3 separate regions of the Homo sapiens genome follow, and regions 2 and 3 are each linked to region 1. Evidence: promoter capture Hi-C in 16 types of primary human blood cells and fetal thymus (Javierre and others, 2016). All regions are on one chromosome and are shown on one strand. The core of a region is centred on a gene start or on the middle of the fragment in contact, and the rest is flanking DNA. Distances in the headings are between cores, read along the strand shown. Region 1 holds the start of PYROXD2 (pyridine nucleotide-disulphide oxidoreductase domain 2). Region 2 overlaps GOT1-DT (GOT1 divergent transcript). Region 3 holds the start of ENTPD7 (ectonucleoside triphosphate diphosphohydrolase 7).

What was found. The method cuts DNA at HindIII sites, captures the fragments that hold promoters and counts their contacts. A CHiCAGO score of 5 or more calls a contact.
Region 2: a contact is called between a fragment that was not itself captured here and the fragment with the promoter of PYROXD2 in region 1, in 2 of 17 cell types (activated CD4 T cells and non-activated CD4 T cells). The highest score is 5.2, in activated CD4 T cells.
Region 3: a contact is called between the fragment with the promoter of ENTPD7 here and the fragment with the promoter of PYROXD2 in region 1, in 4 of 17 cell types (non-activated CD4 T cells, M0 macrophages, total CD8 T cells and 1 more). The highest score is 9.5, in non-activated CD4 T cells.

Annotation. Positions count from the first base shown.
Region 1 is chr10:98,411,712-98,416,498 of GRCh38, forward strand. PYROXD2 (pyridine nucleotide-disulphide oxidoreductase domain 2) reads right to left here and starts at 3,471. Exons shown (of 16, transcript NM_032709.3): 1 at 3,298-3,471. The coding sequence starts at 3,424. HPS1 (HPS1 biogenesis of lysosomal organelles complex 3 subunit 1) reads right to left here. Exons shown (of 20, transcript NM_000195.5): 20 at 4,487-4,787. The HindIII fragment of the contact is 3,850 bases long and covers 1,277-4,787 here.
Region 2 is chr10:99,436,458-99,440,799 of GRCh38, forward strand. All of the region lies in intron 3 of GOT1-DT (GOT1 divergent transcript), which reads left to right. Among named protein-coding and RNA genes, the nearest start is that of GOT1-DT, 7.7 kb to the left of the region's middle. The HindIII fragment of the contact is 4,686 bases long and covers 1-4,172 here.
Region 3 is chr10:99,657,352-99,662,108 of GRCh38, forward strand. ENTPD7 (ectonucleoside triphosphate diphosphohydrolase 7) reads left to right here and starts at 2,158. Exons shown (of 13, transcript NM_020354.5): 1 at 2,158-2,237; 2 at 2,511-2,613; 3 at 4,095-4,277. The coding sequence starts at 2,606. It also overlaps a transcript of SLC25A28 not described here. RefSeq lists silencers at 1,837-2,046, 2,167-2,386. The HindIII fragment of the contact is 2,116 bases long and covers 930-3,045 here.

The DNA of each region.
Region 1 (4,787 bases), core at 2,221-4,720:
GGAAGGTTGTATAAATGTCGACTCCCACAGACCCCCTTCCCAGGAGTCTGTTCAGCAGGTGTTTCACAGAACCAAAAGTTTCATGAGCTAAAATTAACTCTTACCATATGAGAAGCATGTGAGAAGCTAGTTGGTTACAGTTCATCTTAAAAAGTGCTGGTTGACATACTCTTTATTTGTATGGGCTTTTGAAAATGTTCATAAGAAAGTTTAAACAATCCGCCAGTGGGACTCATGAACAGATGGAATCTGTCTCTCAAAGACATGCAGCAAACTAAAGGCAGACAGTCCTGGGCTCAGCCCAGCCTCTGCTATTTGCCAGGGCATGACCTCAGAGAGTCATCAGCTGCCCTGAGCCTTGAGTTTCTTCACATGGGGAACAGAGGGTGCCAGGGACCCTGCAGTGTGGCAAGGATGAGATAAATGGGAGCTATTTGTCTTTTAATTGGTGCTGATGATCGATCTTGGAAAACTCATAGTCTTCCAGGCAACTGGGTCCAGTTCAATCATGGCAGACCTCAAATGAGTAAGGTCAAGGATCCAAAGCACAAGACCCCCTCCCAGTGACCACCCTCAAGTCCTGGCTGAGCCCTCCTTGGCTTCTGGTGACACCTCTGTTCCCTTGAAGAGGACTTCAGCTGCGGGCTCTGCTAATCCCCAGACCTGCCTCAGGGGCCCCATAGCAGGCGCCTGGGCCCTTGAGGAGCTGCTCTGGGCGTGGGCTCTGCAGCTGCCTGCATCAGGCAGTGTTGGTTGGGTGGATGTGCTGACCTCTGGGAGACACCTCCCGCCCTCAGAATGCTCGTCACCAGGTATGGGGCCAGGAATCTCCATTTTAACAAGCCCCCTCAGTCACTCTCAGGCACATTTAGTCAAATGACTAAATGAGATTCATCTTCAAGGTGGCGGCCAGGTGCCAGTGTGCCTTCAGGGACTCAGAGGTAACCCTTGTCTCAGAAGATGCCGTTCTGTTCCTCACTGAGGCCCAAGATGCCTTTAAACCAGGCTTTATGGTATGTTTAGCAACTAAAGAAATCATGTCAAGGAAAAGCTCACACACTGAGACTCACTCGCACTTGTAGGCAAGTCACCAAGGCAGCTGGTGACCTAAAGTCAACCTTCCCCATTAGGAGACAGCAGGGTGAGCTGTGGCTGAGCACGGAAGGAGGCAGGGGGCTTCTCTGAGGCTAAGTGAGGTGCTGGAGATGGCTCCCACCAGCCCGGGGAGTTTGTGAGCCGGCTGTCAAACAGCCATTGATATAAACTAAATTATATAAGCTTACAATTAAATAAATTAAAAACAAAGGTAATAAATACTCAAAACACACTACCTCCTATTTGTTTTACTACATTTGACTGTTGCCCATGCCCTGGCAGTCACTGGCCTCTATGTACATATCTGCATGGTGGACACACTATACAATGATGTGCTACTGGGTATCTCTCCTAAATCACATTGAGCAACCTCATCTTGGTAACAGAAAAGGCTATGGTGGGAGTATTTACACCACTGTCATCAGCAAATATTACACAGAAGGGCTGAATTTATTTTTTGTGGTCAGGCTTAAGAAAGTGATGGGAAAATGCTAATAATGCAGATTAAACCTAACAGTGTTAGCTGTTATAGCATGAATAAATAGCACAAAAATTGAAGGAAATATTCTAGTATTAGAACAATATTATCTTATTTGAGTAACATCATTCCTGTCATTTAAAGAAGGAGGCCGGGCGCAGTGGCTCACACCTGTAATCCCAGCCCTTTGGGAGGCTGAGGCAGGTGGATCACAAGGCCAGGAGTTTGAGATCAGCCTCGCCAACATGGTGAAACCCCGTCTCTACTAAAAATACAAAAATTAGCCGGGCGTGGTGGTGGGCGCCTGTAGTCCCAGCTACTCGGGAGGCTGAGGCAAGAGAATCGCTTGAACCCAGGAGGCGGAGGTTGCAGTGAGCCGAGATTGCGCCGCTGCACTCCAGCCTGGGCAACAGAGCAAGACTCCATCTCAATAAATGAATAAATAAATAAAATAAAAATAAATTTTAAAAAATAAAGGAGTAAGGTTGGGACATAAATCTTTGTTGTTTCATTTGTTTCACGATCATCCTACTCTTTACAGAAAATATGGAGCACCGTTCTCTTTGGAGCTACCCTCATTTGTCATTTGCAACTATAGGTTGGCTACTGAGTTTGGCAAAAATCAAAGAAAGCCTTTGGTAAGAATCACTCGGGTAGACTGCATTTAAATTGAGAGTATTGTATCTTTATTTGTAAAATTGTGTGCAGTGTATCTTTTATTTCAATATTTAAAATAAGCATGTGTATATGTGTATATATATGTACGTAACACATATACATATATATACACATATATGTGTGTATATATACATATATATACATGTACACACACACATACATCACACATTTTTCCCTGGAGAGGTGAGTGTTGAGTATCTACCAGCTCGCAACTGCTCTAGTACATATGAAAATGAAGGCATGCCCTCAAAGCTGCATGTTGAGTGCCGTCTGCTTTCGGTCCCGTCATTATCTCTGTATAGACCCAGTTGGCAATCATGCATTTGGGGCCCTCTGCAAGTGTGAAAGGAAGGCACTAAGGAAAGACCACCTGGTCCTGGGCCTGCCTCTTCCCCTAGCACCCAGTAGACTGTGATACTCTGAGCCCAGGGGTTGGCAAAGTGTGGCAGATCACTGCAGATCCCCAAATGTCCCAGAGCTGCAAGGCAATGGGGTCCATCTCCCTCTGCAGACACGCAGTAGGAACTCTGGGACTCAGTTCTGTTTTATCCTAACTGGCCTTTATGAAATGACTGCAGTTTCTTGTGACGAGGGGTGGCCTCAGTGGTAAGGTAGTGGTGACCAGAACTCAGGGCACTGAGGGGGCGGGGTGCTGGATTTCACTTGTCTGTTGGCCCAGGGCTCTTTCCAACCCTTACAAACCATAGGCTGAGAATGTGGTGGAAACTAGGTCACTTTGCAAGAGATATAGGGAAACCCCTGAGCTCACCTAGTCTTCCTGTCATTCTCCATGGGAAGATCCAAGCCCAGAGAAGGCAAGCATTTGCCCCAGGCCACACAGCAGAGCCAGCACCGGAATCCCAGGTGCCTGCCTGCCAGATGGAAGGGCTTTCCATTGCAGCCCCTGCTAGCGTATAAACTTCTGGCTGGGTTATGCCAGAGGAGAGAGCAGTGGGGCTTGGCTCCCCCTCCCCCTCCCCACCAAGCTCTGAGCAGGGCTGTCTTCCCGCCCCTCAGCTCTGGCCCGGCCTGCTTTACCACTTTACCTGCTCCTATCACCACCGCATCATACTCAGGCTTCAGACCTCCCCTGGCTTCCGTGTTATCTCGTCTCCACGCCGGGAAGGGAGAGGCGGCCACAGCCTTGCAGAGACCTCGGCCACTTGCAGCCATTTCTGCCCCAGGCTGGGCCTTGCTAGGCAGGGAGTTTGCTAGCGATTGGCTTTTGTGCTGCCCTAGGCACGGGGTGGAGCAGGGAGGAAGCAGGAAGAGGAGGAGCTGCAGTCCCCCTCCAGGCCCCCTCCACCATGCATTCTTGGCCACAGGCCAGCCTCCTGCTGCCCTGGGGCTGTGCTGGGCCGTCGGGAGTGTTGCCTATTAACCAGGCGGTGTCACCTCCAGGATGCAGGGGATAATGGCAAAACTGACAATCCACTGGGGTTCCTATGTCAGGCTGGCATTGTGCTGAACCCTGTAGGCAAAACTCCCCATTTTACAGATGAGGGCGCTGAGGCTGCGGGGTTAGGGAATGAGTGGTGGAGGCAGAGTGGAGCTCGAAAGGGCCCTCTCCTCCCCTGTGCATCTACCTTCTCAGTCAGAACTGAAACGCCTGGGATGGCAAGTGCTCGTGTCAGACTCTGCTCCAACTCCATGCTGAGTCTGCCAGTGCAGAGTGGTGATGCCTCTACGCCCACAGGAGGCGCCCAGGGCGGCCATCTAGCGTCACCACGACCAGGGCCTTCAGACACCGCAGAGGCAGCTGTGTCTGTCGCTGAGGAGCACTGGAGTCCTCTCCTAAATGCTCAAACACAAACCCACAACGAGGGCTTAGGGGCAAGTTCGCTGTCTGTAATTCTCTGGTGTTTTAGTTTTGAAGGCCTGGCCAGTTCTCCTCTTTTGGCACCTTGCCCATTTTCCAAGAATCCCCAAGGATTCGAGGTCACATCTGTAAATACCTCCAGCTAAAGTTCTTTCTGACCCTCCCTTAGGCCTGCCTTGAATTAGGAGCCCCTTTGTTCTCTGCCCATTACTTAGCAGAGTGTTCCCCTAGGAGGAAAAAACCCCTTGGAGCGGAGAGTTCCTGCACTGCTCTGATATCGCAGTGTGACGGAAACCTGCTATTGGTAACGAATCTCAGAACTGGGAGAGTATGTGGAGATGATCCTAAGAGGGGGTTCCGAGGACCCCTCCACACACCATGGACAGTTACCCCGCATGTGAGCATCTCTGCTAAGATCTGATTCAGGATGTTCACTCCTGTGTTATTTATTATATAGAAAGATCAAGGGGACTGGTTAAACTAGACATATCACATCCAGCCGCTGCTAAAAACTAAAGGGAAATAGTAGGTGACAAAAGCAGGGGTCCTGAACAGTGGTGGGCTCAGGGGATTGGAGTTTTTTCCTTTATGTTTTTCTGTATTTTCCACAATCCACGCTTTTCATTGCCATTCCATCAGATGATGTTAAGGAGGAACACAGATCCAGTCACCTGAGGGGATACTTCCTCACTGCCACCTTCTCAGGGTTTAGACCAA
Region 2 (4,342 bases), core at 580-3,079, 1.0 Mb after region 1:
CAGTAGCTTGACCCTGGGTAATCAGATAGGGTTATTGTATGAACAGACCTAATGCTCCTGCACGTTCTGGATAGAAGTCAATCTACTGAAATAGCAGGATGTAGTTTTAAAAAATGTGTGTAACTCATATAGTCTTAGCCCTGATAAGTGCTTCTAAATTCTTATTCACTGCCTTTATTCTGCTGTGTTAGTGTTGCTCTCTGTCATACGTGGGTCAGGTCAGAACTAGCTCAAATACAGTATGTGTATTATGACTTTAAGGAGTGGTGTCAGACAAGATGGGTAAAGAATGTCTTTCATGGGACTGCAGTTGGCTAAATGGCTGTGTATAAGTAGTGAAATTGAAGCCTTGTATGCTCGTCGTCATTCTATCACAGTATGATTTGAGTTTCCCTAACCGGTAAACAGCAAGAAAAAATGATCTGTTATTTTTTACTAAAGTTACTTGATGCTCTTTAGCAAGCTGACAGAATAATTCTAATTTTAGCAAATACAAAACCATGGTAATCCTAGCACATTTGGATTCTGTTTAACCCTGAAAACTCTTTTGGCAGCAAATCTTCAATGCCAATTTAGATAAATCCCACTAGGAATAAGCACTGAAAGACGTTGAGTCTAGTTCCCAGCTCTGCCATGTGAAGTTGGGCAAATTACAGTCTCTGAGCTTTTATTTCATCTGTTAAATGGAGATAATACCTCCTAGATTTATTAAAAGGGTCAATTTAGAAAATATGTATTAAAATGGTTTGAAAGCCATTTAAGTACCTAATGAATATTTCTATCACTGTAGCCCAAAAAGATTCCTGCCTAGAAGACTTTATGTCTCTTCTCCTCATTTGGTATCATTCTATTGCCTGAGATTGTTAATTAACTTTTATGTATACTCAATATTTTCTCCCAACTTGGTTGCTAGTTCCTTGAGAACTGAAACCATCAATTGCACTTCTTGGTATCCTCCACAATAAGGTATCTAGGTACTCAAATATTTGTTGGTTGATTAAAAACATAAACCACAAGACATAATTAACTCTTTTTAAAATTGTGGTAAAAAAACATGTATTTACCATCTTAATCATTTTTAAGTATACTGTATATTAGTGTTTACTATATGCACATTGTTGTGCAACACATCTCTAGGACTTTTTCATCCAGAATTCTTTTTTTTTGAGACAGAGTCTTGCTGTGTCGCCCAAGCTGGAGTTCAGTGGCACCATCCTGGCTCACTGCAACTGCTGCCTCCCAGGTTCAAGTGATTCTCCTGCCTCAGCCTCCCGAGTAGCTGGGATTACATGTGCCTGCCACCACGCCTGGCAAGTTTTTGTATTTTTAGTAGAAATGGTGTTTTACCATGTTGGCCAAGACTGGCCTAGAACTCCAGACCTCAAGTGATCCACCCGCCTCAGCAGCCCAAAGTGGTGGGATTACAGGCATGAGCAACTGTGCCTGGCCTAGCCATTTTCTATAAACCTGAAAATAGATGCCAGAAAAGAAGGTGCCGCTATAAAATGCTTTCTTGAGTGATTTATGTCTAACATACAATTAAACATTTATGAGAAGGAAATTATCAGGTTAAAATATAAACTCACTTGCCAATTATTTGATTTTCAGGATATCTGACTTTTGTTAATTACTGAAAATAAAGTATTATTTCTAATCACTATTGGTATCACAATAGCATTTTTATTTGGCCGGTATGTGTGAGGCCTGGAGTATGACGGGAAACTGTCCTAGAAAAGGCCCTTGCATTGGCTGTAGAGAGTTCTGGAACTCTCAAGATGGCAAGATTGTATTTAACTCTTTTAAAAACAATGCACCTTTTCAAGCACAGATTTTCATCTGATGTTGTGACCGTCAATTATGTCAGATTTGTTTGATATATTAAAAAATTGGTTTCTCCTTTGCACAAAATAAATTATAGATGGATATAAGATTTAAATATTTTAAACAATATAGGGAAAATAATATATTTGAAACATAGTATTAGGGTAGAATAGACTTTCCTAATCATGGCACAATCTCAGAAGCTATAAAGAAAATAATTGACTTTGCATGGCTATAGACACCATAAATAAATATGTGATAACATGGAAGAATATTTGCAACATGCTTATTAGTCACATCTGTTATATAGTCAGAGCTTCATTGTATTGGTGGAAAAATTAGGATATAAAGAAATTCAGAAAAGAATAAATACAAATAACCAGTAAACATGTCCAAAATCATCCTCATTATAAAATTGAAACCACGCTGATTTATCAATGTTTACCCATTAGACTGACAAACATTTTAAATGTTCAAAAAATAGTGTTGAGGGAAAAGAGCAATGACATGCACTATTGGGGAGACTGTCAATGAATAAAGCCTTTTCTTGTATTTTGGTAATAACAGTCAAAATGCACATAATACCATTTGACCAAGCAATTTCTCCTCTAGGAATCTATCCTAAAGAAATTTATACAAGTTTTCAAAGATAGGTATGTAGGCATACAGTTATGCATTGTAGCTTTGCTTTAACAGAAAAAGAGTAAACACATGTATTATTTTTGTAGCCTAAAAAAAAATCAAGTTTTCATTGAAAATAAAAATGACAGGTTTGAAGCAGGACAGTGGCCATGGAAGTCGAATCCACTAAGGCGTGTGTAACAAGTCACCTGCTGAGTCAACAAAAATAAATAAAAATTTTTTAAAAACAGGCTTGAGAGACACTTCACAGGAATAGAAAATTTAGATAGTTTCTAACAATGACAATGAAGTAGGACAGGAAAAAGTAATTCTCCAAAGCAAAGTATGTATGTGTGTAGTAACTTAAAACTTCAGATACTATGAGAAACTATTTTTAAATAAAGAACAATGTGGTGTGCTACAGTTTAGAGTTGATCTGGAAATCTGGGGAGCTATTGATGCTCCTTAGTTAATAAATTAGTGATTTTTAAAAATATGAATCCCCATTATCCGTAGCAAACTAACGCAGGAACAGAAAACCAAATACTGCCAAATACTGCATGTTCTCATAAGTGGGGCTGAATGATGAAGAACACATGGATACATGAAGGGGAATAACACACACTGGGGCCTGTCAGGGGTGGGAGTAGGAGGAAGGAGGGCATCAGAAAGAACAGCTAATGGATGCTTGGCTGAATAGCTAGGTGACAGGATGATCTATGCAGCAAACCACCACGGCACACATTTACCTATGTAACAAACCTGCACATCCTGCACATGTACTCCTGAACTTGAGAATTGAAGAAAAAAAATGAATCCCACAATTCTGTATCCAAAGACCGAGAACAGCTCCTGACATCGAACAGACAATAAATATTGGCTGAAGGAATGAATGAGGATATTTGCATCCGAGTTTTAATTAGAATAGATGTAAAATTGCCTAATGATTATTACTTGTTCTGCAACAAGTGTTTAATAGATACTAGTTCACTACTTATACGTGTCTAACACATCACAAAGGTTTATTTAAAAGAATTTATATAGTGCTTATTATATGTTGGGTACTGTTCTAAGTTCTTCACAAACACTAACTCATTCAAGTTGTATAAGTGAAGCAGGTGGTCTAATTATTCCATTTAACAGATGAGGCAATTGAGGCAAAGAGCAATTAAGTAACTTGCCCACGATGGCACAGCTAGACAATGGTGGGGATATGAACACAGTCTGCCTCCAGGGTCACTTCTCCATGGTGCCATATTGCATCCCACACGGTAAAAACTTACTAAATGTAAGAATGCATAAAGTGTTACTGTTTTTGAAATTATATTATGCTTTTGCCCCAGAAAGTCAGAATATTTGATATCAAATCATGTCTAAAAATCATTCCCACAACTTCCCTTTGAGGTAGAGCATATTTCTAAAATCATGTTTTAGTGTATTACTGGTTTAATAGTTGTGTTTAAAAAGAACATGGGAGGTCATTGTTCCTATGATAAAATCACTGTATTTGTTTTTTGACATCATATTCATTTCCATGACAACACTTCCAAGTTCCAAACACAGAAACATCTTGCTCTAGAAATGGAAGAGGCATAGGGCCTACAGAGAATTACATAACAATGTCAAAATTGTTTAAAGGGGTAAGGTTGTTTGTGTGTATTTTAATCTTTTGCATAACTAAAGCAATGAGTCTCCAACTTTTTCAATCAGGAATCTTTTTTTTGTATCTAAGCTTTGTAGGCTTTTTTGTTTTAAGATGGAGTCTCTGTTGCCAGGCTGGAGTGCAGTGGCATGATCATAGCTTATCACAGCCTCAAATTCCTGGGCAAAAGCAATCCTTCCACCTCAGCCTCCCAAGTAGCTGGAATTATAAGCACAACCCACCCTGCTGGCTAGTTTT
Region 3 (4,757 bases), core at 908-3,407, 1.2 Mb after region 1:
ACTGAACTGGGTTCTGAAATAATAAAAATAACTGGTATCTGTATAATGTTGTGGTTAATCCCAACTTTATGCAACTATTCTATTCAATGTGGTTTCTGGGGGTCCAGATAAAATATAACACTTGAAGCAGAGTGGGGATTGAGGGACAGAGAAAAAAAAACTGAGAACTGAGAATTGAAGAAGAAAGGCAAATTAGGAAGTTCAACAAGGTTAGGAGAGTAGTGGAGCCAAAAAAACAATAGTCATGAGAACTGAATATAGAAACTGGACAATGGCTAGATCTTATATGACAATTAGAACTCTGACCCACAACCTCTACAGCAACCAGCCGAGAATAATCAGGACTTGGTCAATGACTCAGTTTCCCTGTTTTTTGCCGCCTCCTTTCTTCAACTCAGAACCCACTAAAGACAGCCAAATATGCTACCTACCCCAAACCAATCACCTAAGAGACACTACTTTTGTTAGCCCACCTCCAGCTTTCCCATGCTAATACCCTCAAGTCAGAGTATACATGAAACCTTCCCTTTTTGTTCACTACTAAGCTTTCCTGGCCAGGTGCAGCTGCTCATCCCTGTAATCCCAGCACTTTGGGAGGCTGAGACAGGAAGACTGCTTGAGCCCAGGAGTTCAAGACCAGCCTGGACAACATAGTGAGACTCCATCTCTACAAAGAATTAAAAAAAAATAAGCTGGGCATGGTGGCACGTGCCTGTAGAGCCAGCTACTCAGGAGGTTGAGGTGGGAGGATCGCTTGCTCAGGAGGTCGAGGCTGCAGTGAACCACGATCGCACCACTGCACTCCAGCCTGGATGACAACAGAGTGAGACCCTGTAGGTAATTAAGTAAGTAAGTAGTTTTCCTAATGTCCTGACAGGCTTTGAGTCGGCCAAATGCAAGTGATGGTGACTGACTCCCTTGTCATAGTAAGCTTTGAATAAATAAAGCATTTGGGTGGTCTTCCTCCCCGATCCCCCCCATTCATTCATTTGCTTATTAATTATACATTAGTTGTGTTTTATCTGCCAGGCAGTGGCCAGTATTGGGAATATGTGGAAGCAAATAGTCCCTGCCTTCAAGGATATTCTGTCTAGTGGGACAGACAGACAGACATATACGTATAATAGTAATTCAACGTGCTAAGTGAAACAATAGGCATGTATAAAAAAGGTGTAGTAGGTCAAGTAGGGCTTTTAGGGGAAGGCGACCCTTAAGATGGGTGGTAAGGGATGAGTAGGAGGTGATTTGGCTAAGAGGCTGGGACGGTTATTCAAGGCAGGTGGAGGGGCAGAATGAGCAAAACAGGACGCGTTGCTGGAGCGTGGTAAGGAAGGCAAGTAGCGGCAGAGGACGGCGGTAGGGCGGATCGTGGGGCGCAATGGATGTGCCACGTTGGAAAGAGCTTGGACTTTATGCCGTCCTCCTGGAAATGAGATAACGGCTGGTGTAAGCAAGAAAGAAACACACACACACCCACGCGCGCGCGTCGTTTCCTTTGTGTTACTGTAAGGTCAAGGAGGGCGGCGACACAGAAATTCATGATGACTGGCATAAGCAGACATTCAATGAATGAATGAATGGACATAAGCACTTTGGTGTAAACGTCATTGTCTTCGATTTCTGTTTTCTCACGGGGCAAGACAGTGAGGTCGGGGCATCAGTTTGGGAGGTGATAGGGAAGGTTTAAGGTGAGAGAACTGCCATTCTGGTAGGGAGGGTCAGTGGGCACAAAACCAACAATAGGTTATGGGCAAGGGATGCGCTTCGGTCGCGAACACCCTGAACCCACCTACCGGAGCTACTCTGTCCCAGGAGCGGCCGTGGAGAAAGCAACCAGCCGAGAGTTCGCGCCCCAGGGAGGGAAGCGGGCACAGGGCCGCCCAGCGCCACTCACCTGTGAGCTCTCCGCGGGCCCTGCAGGCGGAGCCTCGGTACGACGCCTTTCCGATTGGGCGCGGCTCAAAGTCCCGGGGCGGGCATCAGAGGCCGAGCGCTCTAGGGGATTGGCCACCCTGGCGGACGGACGTGCTGCTGACCGAGCTGGTTCGCCCCCGGTTCGGCTCGTGGAGAGCCGGCCCCTCCGTGAGTCTTCTGTCAGTCATTGGCTCCCTGCGGTTTCCTTGGGGACGTGGCGCCGCCGCCGGCCGGGCCCTCCTTCCGGCTGGGCAAGGGGCCGCGGGGAGCAGCTCGGGACTGAACCGAGAGGTGCCGAAGGAACCGGCGGGCCGCTTGATCCCGTGAGTGTGGGCGCGAGAGGGCTGTGGGACCCGGAGGGACGGGGAGAGGAAGCGGGACCCACACCCCGCCACCTGGGGACGACCGGTTCCTAGAGGACAGAGCTGGCCCACGAGAACGCCCCGCTCCCAGGATGCCCGGGTAGGGTCCCCTGGGCCTGAGGAACCAGAGCAGACGGAGCGGGAGCCTGGGGAGGAGGTGGGAGCCGTGGAATTCCCGTGCAGGTTTGTCTCGTGGGCTCAGTCGGACAGAAGCCTGAAATCAAATCTTTCTAGGCTGCAGACGTAGGAGATGCCTGGGACAAGGAGGCCACCTTCTCAGGGCAAAAGAAAAAGAAGGTGACAGGCGTTGAGACCACCGAAGGGAACCCATGGCTAGGTAAGGCTGCACACTTTCCCTCCGGCTGGGAGCACGGCAGAGGATGGCAGGCAGGTTGGGGGGCCCTGGGAGGCTGTCCCAAGTGAGGTTTGCCCTGGAGCTGCACTTGGACTTTGTATTCTGGTTAGTTGGATGCAGAGACGATCAAAGTTGTATTATTTCGAGGGCTGATAAATAATAGTTTCTAGCCCATAGACCAGGAGTGGTAGAGTGAGTCGGCTTGCTCAGCTCTGTAAAGTGCAAGGTTGTAACATTGATTCAGATTCGCATCTGAGCAAGGCTAGGTGCCACTTGAGGAGGTTAAACAAAGAAGTTTTTTTGTTTTTTGTTTGCAGTGAACTTTAAAAGCAGACAGACCGAGGTCCTTTTGAATCAATATACAAAGTGAACTTCACAGATGAATACACTTATCCATACATTATAATAACCTGAAGCTTTTAAAAAATATTAATGTGGATCTACATGCACCAATAAGGGAAAGTTATAAAATAAAGTGGGGGAAAGATGCAGAACAGCAGGTATGGTGGACTACCATTTGTGTAAAACCGAGGGAATGGATACGCACACACACACACACACACACACACACACACACACAGAGATATATTACTGTAAATATATTGGTGTATATTTATGCTTGTGTATCCGTAGAATATCCCTGGAAAGATACACAGCAACGGCCAGGTGCAGTAGCTCACGCCTGTAATCCCAGCACTTTGGGAGGCCAAGGCAGGCAGATCACCTGAGGTCAGGAGTTCAGGACCAGCCTGGCCAAGTAGAAACCCGGTCTCTACTAAAAATACGAAAATTAGCCGGGTGTGGTGGCAGTCACCTGTAATCCCAGCTACTGGGGAGGCTGAGGGAGAAGAATCGCTTGAACCCAGGAGGTGGAGGTTGCAGTGAGCTGAGATTGCGCTACTACACTCCAGCCTGGGCAACAGAGCAAGACTCCATCTCAAAAAAAAAAAAAATTACACAGCAACTGGGTAGTAATGTTTGCCTCTGAGAGATTGTGGGGTCAGGGCAAGAATCACTTTTCACTATACAATATATCCTTTTAAACTGATTTGTCTTTTACTATGTGCTTGTATAATCTGGTAAAACATTTTTAAAATCAGTTAAATAAATTTTCTGACCATCCTGTTTCTTGACAGAATTCTTGGTTGGGAATACTGTAGTTGCTCTGATTCTCCAATGTTATGAGGTTGCCCAGGGAGACTGGTGATCTTTTCACTAACATGAGATTAAGTCTTTGAATTGCACTCAAAGTGCAGTTTGGAAAAAGGGCAGATAAGGCTTTTCTGATATATATAGTAGAAGCACCATGAGCTTCTTCTAAAATTAGAGATGACAAGAACATTTAGACTTCTGTTGGCATGGATTTTTGCCTTTATTAGGAGGGTTTTATCCAATTTTAAAACGATATTTAAGCACTCAGTTGTAGAAATGTTTCAGACTTACTAATGTTTGTCTAATTTCAGGATCAGTTTTTCCTACCTCTGCCCAGCCTCCTGGTACTTCACTGTGCCCACAGTGAGTCCATTTCTCCGTCAGCGGGTGGCATTCCTGGGACTCTTCTTCATATCCTGTCTCCTTTTACTTATGTTAATCATAGACTTTCGACATTGGAGTGCTTCATTACCACGAGATAGGCAATACGAAAGGTGAGTCAGCTTTAGATTTTGGCACTCAAGTCATAAATATTTTCATAAGCTGTTTAACACACTACTGACTTTGACCCTTTTGGGTGATACTGTACTTTTATTAGTAAAATTGCATGCCATTTATTACATAAAGAAGATTTTAAGCCCTATTTTGGCAATATGCAGTTTGGTACAGGAATACTGATACTGCATGAAAGGCATCTTTGTGTTTTCTTGTTTTGGTGGGCTGAAACTTATTGTGTGTATAAATGTTTAGGACTGTATTATACCTTTATGAATGGACCCCTTTATCATTATTAAATGATTTTCTTTATCCTTGATTATATACTTTGCTCTGAAATCTACTAGTCTGGTATTAATATAGCTACTCCAACTTTCTTTTGATTAACATTAGCATGACAGATATTTCTTCTATAGTTTTAGTTTTAGCCTATTGGTGTCTTTATATAAGTGGGCTTCTTGTAGTCAGTGTTTGGTTGG